Regions from separate parts of the Homo sapiens genome. Here region 2 is linked to region 1. The links are contacts of gene promoters, found by promoter capture Hi-C in blood cells and fetal thymus (Javierre and others, 2016). All regions are on one chromosome and are shown on one strand. Each heading gives the region's core, a stretch centred on a gene start or on the middle of the fragment in contact. The rest is flanking DNA. Distances are from core to core; before and after follow the strand shown. Region 1 holds the start of GPR37L1 (G protein-coupled receptor 37 like 1). Region 2 holds the start of ELF3 (E74 like ETS transcription factor 3).

Evidence for each region. Contacts are between HindIII fragments. The CHiCAGO score rates a contact against its expected background, and 5 or more counts as called.
Region 2: the fragment with the promoter of ELF3 here is called in contact with the fragment with the promoter of GPR37L1 in region 1 in 6 of 17 cell types (erythroblasts, endothelial precursors, M0 macrophages and 3 more); the score reaches 10.2 in erythroblasts.

Annotation. Positions count from the first base shown.
Region 1 is chr1:202,121,079-202,124,263 of GRCh38, forward strand. GPR37L1 (G protein-coupled receptor 37 like 1) reads left to right here and starts at 1,839. Exons shown (of 2, transcript NM_004767.5): 1 at 1,839-2,515. The coding sequence starts at 1,886. LOC105371683 (a long non-coding RNA gene) reads right to left here. Exons shown (of 3, transcript XR_922422.3): 2 at 2,873-2,980; 3 at 2,509-2,655. The HindIII fragment of the contact is 24,323 bases long and covers 1-3,185 here.
Region 2 is chr1:202,009,169-202,012,551 of GRCh38, forward strand. ELF3 (E74 like ETS transcription factor 3) reads left to right here and starts at 1,419. Exons shown (of 9, transcript NM_004433.5): 1 at 1,419-1,538; 2 at 1,961-2,131; 3 at 2,789-3,010; 4 at 3,176-3,268. The coding sequence starts at 1,969. ELF3-AS1 (ELF3 antisense RNA 1) reads right to left here and starts at 1,185. Exons shown (of 2, transcript NR_146472.1): 1 at 632-1,185. RefSeq lists enhancers at 1,385-2,318, 2,319-3,253. The HindIII fragment of the contact is 11,380 bases long and covers 1-3,383 here.

The DNA.
Region 1 (3,185 bases), core at 589-3,088:
CTGCCACATCTGTCCAATTTTTGTATTTTTAGTAGAGATGGGGTTTCACCATGTTGTCTGGGCTGGTGAAGGTGGTAGGTTTCAATGACAGCAGCATAATGCCGTGGGAGTTGGGAGGAGGGAATGATCTGACTCACTCTGGGGCAGGTCTTCGAGTTAATTCTCCAGTGGATTCTCCTAGGCATCGTGTGGTCCGTCCTCAGAACTGTGCCTCCCTAATGTGGCTGAGTGGATTCACTACCCACCCCATGCTTGGGCTCTGCCTCGACCTCTCCCTCCCATGCACAGCCAAAGCCGCTCAAAGCTGCTGGTTTTCCTTGACTCTGGGCTTCTCTCCATCACCCACTGCCTCCCAACAGAACCCCCGGTCTCTGCATCCTCCTGTTCCAGATTGCTAGGACCCCAGCTGCCCATCAGGGACCCCTCTAAAATAACTTAGTTGAGTCATTGTTTGCCTACTTAACAACCTGTGATATTCTCCATTGCTTATGGGATAAAATCTAAACTCCTTGGCTTGGCATACAAAGTCCTTTACAGTCCAGTTCCTCCTCTGCTGATATTTCCAAGCTCTTTGTCCCAAGTGCCCATGCTCTCTCCCCACCTCCCTTGCACTCTAGTCCCCTCGACAGACTTGCTCTCTTGCGGGAACATCACCCACTTCCACATCACCCAGCCTTTGTGTGTGCTGTGTCTTCTGCCTAGAGCACCCTCCCTTCCCGTAGTCTGTCAGGCAAGCTCACAGCCATTTCTCGGGATCCATTCAAATGTCACCTCGCTTGGGAGGCCTTCCAGATCCCCCCCAGATTTTCTTGGGTTCCCTCAGCATCATGACCTTTGCCTTTCATAGCATCTATCATGCTGAACTTACACATTTACTTCCTTCTCTGGACTGAAAGCTCATTGGTGGCAGAGATCCTTTACATTTTTGTATTCTGAGTGTCTGGAACACAACACGTAGTCAGTAAAGACGTGTTATTGCAAATGTCCACACATCTTGTGTCTGGCTCAGAATATGGTGTTTTAGGCCGGGTGCGGTGGCTCCCAGCACTTTGGGAGGCTGAGGCAGGCGGATCACCTGAGGTTAGGAGTTTGAGACCAGCCTGGTCAACACGGTGAAACCCTGTCTCTACTAAAAATACAAAAATTAGCCGGGTATGGTGGCGGGCACTACAGTAACTGTAATCCCAGTTACTCAGGGGGCTGAGGCAGGAGAATCACTTGAACCCAGGAGGCGGAGGCTGCAGTGAGCCAAGACCGCGCCATTGCACTCCAGCCTGGGCAACCGAAAAAAAAAAAAAAATTAGAAATCTCTGGAGTCAGATCTGGGTTGTGGGCCTTGCTCTGCCTTGTATCAACTATGTGGCAAGTGACTGACCTCTACAAACCTCAGATTTGTGATCTGAGATTAATCAAGGGTTAATTGAGAAACCAGCTGAGTGCTAGCACCTAGTAAGTGTTCAGTAAGTGACAGTGATGGTTATTGCTGAGTTTTGAATGGAGGAGCTGCCTTAGAATCAGGAGACCTGCGCCCCAGTTCCCATTCTGCCCCACCTCCCTGTGTCACCCTAGGCAGGCCACATTTCCTCCCTAGTTTCAGGGGCCTGAAGCAGATGCCCTCTTAGGGCCCCACAGCCTGACATGCTGTAGGGCCTGAGAAGCGGCGTCGTGGAGGACGAGATGTGTGAGGGCAGCAAAGAGTGCTATGTGTCCAGCAGAGGGCCCTGCCCGGCCTGTGGCCGGAGGCTGGGAGGGAGGGCAGGCGAGTGATGCCAGACGCCTGACTGGAGGCGGATCCAGCCGGCCAGCTGCCTCTCTGGAGCCCAGCTCTTGGGCCCCCTGCACTCACCTGCTCTTCCTGGGCTGGCTGTCTCCTGCTCATCCAGCCATGCGGTGGCTGTGGCCCCTGGCTGTCTCTCTTGCTGTGATTTTGGCTGTGGGGCTAAGCAGGGTCTCTGGGGGTGCCCCCCTGCACCTGGGCAGGCACAGAGCCGAGACCCAGGAGCAGCAGAGCCGATCCAAGAGGGGCACCGAGGATGAGGAGGCCAAGGGCGTGCAGCAGTATGTGCCTGAGGAGTGGGCGGAGTACCCCCGGCCCATTCACCCTGCTGGCCTGCAGCCAACCAAGCCCTTGGTGGCCACCAGCCCTAACCCCGGCAAGGATGGGGGCACCCCAGACAGTGGGCAGGAACTGAGGGGCAATCTGACAGGAGCACCAGGGCAGAGGCTACAGATCCAGAACCCCCTGTATCCGGTGACCGAGAGCTCCTACAGTGCCTATGCCATCATGCTTCTGGCGCTGGTGGTGTTTGCGGTGGGCATTGTGGGCAACCTGTCGGTCATGTGCATCGTGTGGCACAGCTACTACCTGAAGAGTGCCTGGAACTCCATCCTTGCCAGCCTGGCCCTCTGGGATTTTCTGGTCCTCTTTTTCTGCCTCCCTATTGTCATCTTCAACGAGATCACCAAGCAGAGGCTACTGGGTGACGTTTCTTGTCGTGCCGTGCCCTTCATGGAGGTGAGTGTGTGTTCTGTTTGAGCTCTGCTGGGAGGCTGCAATCCAGGGAAGGGACTCAAAGTCTCCATCAGGTCTTTGGAAATGGAATTTGTGGGTGTGCAAAACCTGAGTCTTGGAGCTCTGACTTGCTCCTCCTTTACCTTGGAGAAGGAGACAAATACGGTATTGGTTTCTGGTTGCTCTCAAGAGAAGTAGGCAGGCCAGGGGGACAGGCGGGTGTGTGGGGCCCCTGGGTTCCAGCCCCAGCCTGATCTTCTGCTTCGGGAGCAACCTCAAGGCAGGCCTTTGCCACTTTCTCCAGACCCTAAGCTGCCCTCTCCCTTCCTCAGCCCTTCTCCCCTGTCCCACCCAAGATACCTCTGTCCTTTGTTGTGACTCCTCTTCTTTCCTCTGTACCCCCTGCCGCTGCCCTGCTCCCACAGCTTCCTTCGCTGCTCCTCCGTCTCCTGCCTCCTGAAGGAGTGCCTGAAGGGAGAGCCCAATTTCCTTCACACCCCTCTGGATCAAGTCAGCATCCACTCCATGAGAATACAAGCACCAGAAGCAAAAGACCGCTCCGTTCTTCCCTCCCTGCTGGGATTCTCATTGTTATCGTTGTCATTTCCATCAGCAACTTCCTAGATCCTCTCTGAAAGGGATACCTGGTTCTGGGCACTGGAACTAATGGGGG
Region 2 (3,383 bases), core at 169-2,668, 110 kb before region 1:
GGGGAAACAAGCACAGACTCCAAGGGTCTCATCCAAGATCACACAGTTGCAGATGCTGGCTACAAGTCTCCTGCCTCAACCACCTGTATTACCCCATTCAGGGTCTCAAGAAGGGTCTATAAGACACTATCCATTGTGTTTCGGGCTGAGTCCATAGAGACAACCACAGACATGGGGGACTCTGCCCACAGGGAAGGCAAGGGCTCTGGCCATGGAGCTGGATGGGAAGACTCTGAAGCCCGAAGACATTGAATCCTGTGCAGGGAAAGAGCGAGGGTTTTGTGTACAACACACCTGCATACCTGGATGTGAATCTCAGCTCCACCCCTTCACCAACTCTGTGTGGCCTGGGCAAGCCATTCTAAGGGAACCCTCCACACTGCAACTTTCATGTCTATAAAATGGGAATAACCATGCATTCCTTACAGGACTTTTTTGGTGTGAGGATTAAATGAGAGAATATGTTGAAAAGTGCTTGGTAAATATATTAATACTATGCATTCCCTCTTCTTTGAATGACGTGACCCAGGTAGTCAGGCTTCTGACCACTAGAGGGCAGCAGAAGGTACTGGAAAACTGGGCCGAGTGAACCAGAGATTAGATGGGGTCCAGAGAGCAGGGATGAACTTACCCGTGTGGATTCTGGCAACTCCGGCAGGGAGGGCTCCAGCAGGCGCTGAGGGAAGAACTTTCAAGCAGAGCCGGGTCTCTTCAGGAGCGACTGCAGCAACCCTGATGCTTGGATGGAGTCCAGGCAGGTGATGGTAGTGAAGACCTTGCCAACAGAGTGGGCGCTGGAGAAGGAGCCCTTTAGTGGGGACCCTGGGGCCACGACTAGGCTGGCAGGCCCAGCCAGCACCAATTAATCCATGAGTATTGCCCAGCATTGAGCCTGGAGCACCTTCCAGCCCCTGGCCAGAGTCCTGGGTGTTCTGGGAAAAACCCCTAAACCTAGTAACTCCTCTCCCTACTAGGCCTCTTTGTTGCTGAATCTCTGGAATTTAGGGGCCAGCAGCTTTCTGACTCAGGTCAGCCAGGGGTTCATGTTCCCTCACTTGCCCTCCCCCTGCCTGGCCCATCTCTGGCCTGGCCCCTGGGAGGAATTTCCTGGGCCAGAGGGCAGCCGAAAGCACAGATGCCCACCCCAGCAACGTTCCCGCCACCTGCCCAGGCCAGTGCCCCGTGCCCAACCCCAGAGGGTGCGGGATGACAGACTCTGACAATCATTAAACCAGCCGGGCCTGATTTCCCAGCACTGCCTGCTAAGATCCGGGCCAAGTGGCACTGAATATGCAAATCACCTGGGGCCAGGAGCCCAGTCTAAAGGCCAGGAAATCCCCTCCATCCAATGAGACACCAGCTCAGGTTACTGCAGGGGACACACTATAAAGCCCTGAGCTCAGGGAGGAGCTCCCTCCAGGCTCTATTTAGAGCCGGGTAGGGGAGCGCAGCGGCCAGATACCTCAGCGCTACCTGGCGGAACTGGATTTCTCTCCCGCCTGCCGGCCTGCCTGCCACAGCCGGACTCCGCCACTCCGGTAGGATTCCCCGCCTGTCATTCCCTAGCCCAGCTCTTGGGAAACTGCAGAGGGGTCCAGAGGATTTGCAGTTCTGAACCTGCACACTCCAGTCTAGGATCTCCGAGCAAGAGCGTAGGTGTCCTGAGGGTCAAAGAACAGAGAGAGATTGTCTCTGGGAAGGCAGAATGGCCATGACGCCGCTAGTCTGGCTCCAGGGCCCCAGAGATCTGAGGAGGGAAGCCCAGCTGGAGGCTCCTGTGGTCCTGCCCTGGTCTGAGATCTTGGAGCCCTTCTTGAAGAGACGGTGTCCGCAGAGTTGCTGATCTTCCTGCCCCTGGGGGCTACTCTTGCCCAGGGTTGGGCAAAGCAGAGTAGCTGGGAGTGTAAGGAGAGGACCCTCGTCCCCTCACCAACCTCATCCTCTCTCCCCCTACCCACAGGTAGCCTCATGGCTGCAACCTGTGAGATTAGCAACATTTTTAGCAACTACTTCAGTGCGATGTACAGCTCGGAGGACTCCACCCTGGCCTCTGTTCCCCCTGCTGCCACCTTTGGGGCCGATGACTTGGTACTGACCCTGAGCAACCCCCAGATGTCATTGGAGGGTACAGGTGGGTCTCAGCGGGGTGGGATGGGGCACGGAGTGGGAGACAGATCCATCTAAGGGCCTGTTAGACAAATGGGGGAATAGGCAGGGAGGAGGGTCTCTAGGCAAATTCCAGGGCTAGAGGCTGAGACTTAGTGACTGAGGTGCTGGGGGTTGTGGGGCTGTGACAGGCAGAGGGAGGTGTCAGATACCAGGACAAGGGTGTTGTGAATGCTACCTCCTGCCCCTACTCTTGGGATGGCTCCAAGGGCTGAGGTGTGAATCCCCAGTGTGCTCCAGGAATGGGGCTGTGTGGGCTGGGAGTGGTGGCTCACGCCTGTAATCCCAGCACTTTGGGAGGCTGAGCTGAGCGGATCACCTGAGGTCAAGAGTTCGAGACCAGCCTAGCCAACATGGTGAAACCCCGTCTCTACTAAAAATACAAAAAAAAATTTATCCCAGCGTGGTGGTGGGCACCTATAATCCCAGCTACTGGGGAGGCTGACGCAGGAGTATCGCTTGAACCTGGGAGGTGGAGGTTGCTGTGAGCCGAGATTGTGCCATTGCACCCCAGCCTAGGTGACAGGAGTGAGACTCCATCTCAAAAAAAAAAAAAAAAATGGGGCTGTAAGGTCTGCTGGGTGGCCTGAGCTGAGCCTGTTTCCCTGCCTGGCCCTTGCAGAGAAGGCCAGCTGGTTGGGGGAACAGCCCCAGTTCTGGTCGAAGACGCAGGTTCTGGACTGGATCAGCTACCAAGTGGAGAAGAACAAGTACGACGCAAGCGCCATTGACTTCTCACGATGTGACATGGATGGCGCCACCCTCTGCAATTGTGCCCTTGAGGAGCTGCGTCTGGTCTTTGGGCCTCTGGGGGACCAACTCCATGCCCAGCTGCGAGACCTCAGTGAGTCCAGGCCCCTGGAGGCTGGGGAGCAGCTCCACATGTTGAGCTGAGTCGAGTTCAGTGTGGCCGTAGGCAGGCCCTGGAGCTCTGGGCCAGCTGCACAGCCAGAGAGAGCCCTTGAGGGAGGGATTAGGGGAGTGTGACCCTTCCTTCCTTCCTTGTCAGCTTCCAGCTCTTCTGATGAGCTCAGTTGGATCATTGAGCTGCTGGAGAAGGATGGCATGGCCTTCCAGGAGGCCCTAGACCCAGGGCCCTTTGGTGAGAACCCGTTTTCTCCTTCCTTCCCCAGCCTGTCTTGTCCCATCCCTGCCCCTCCACAGAGTGCTAGAGATGACCCCCTCCCCAGACTTCTTCCTCCCTCAATTAGAAAAAT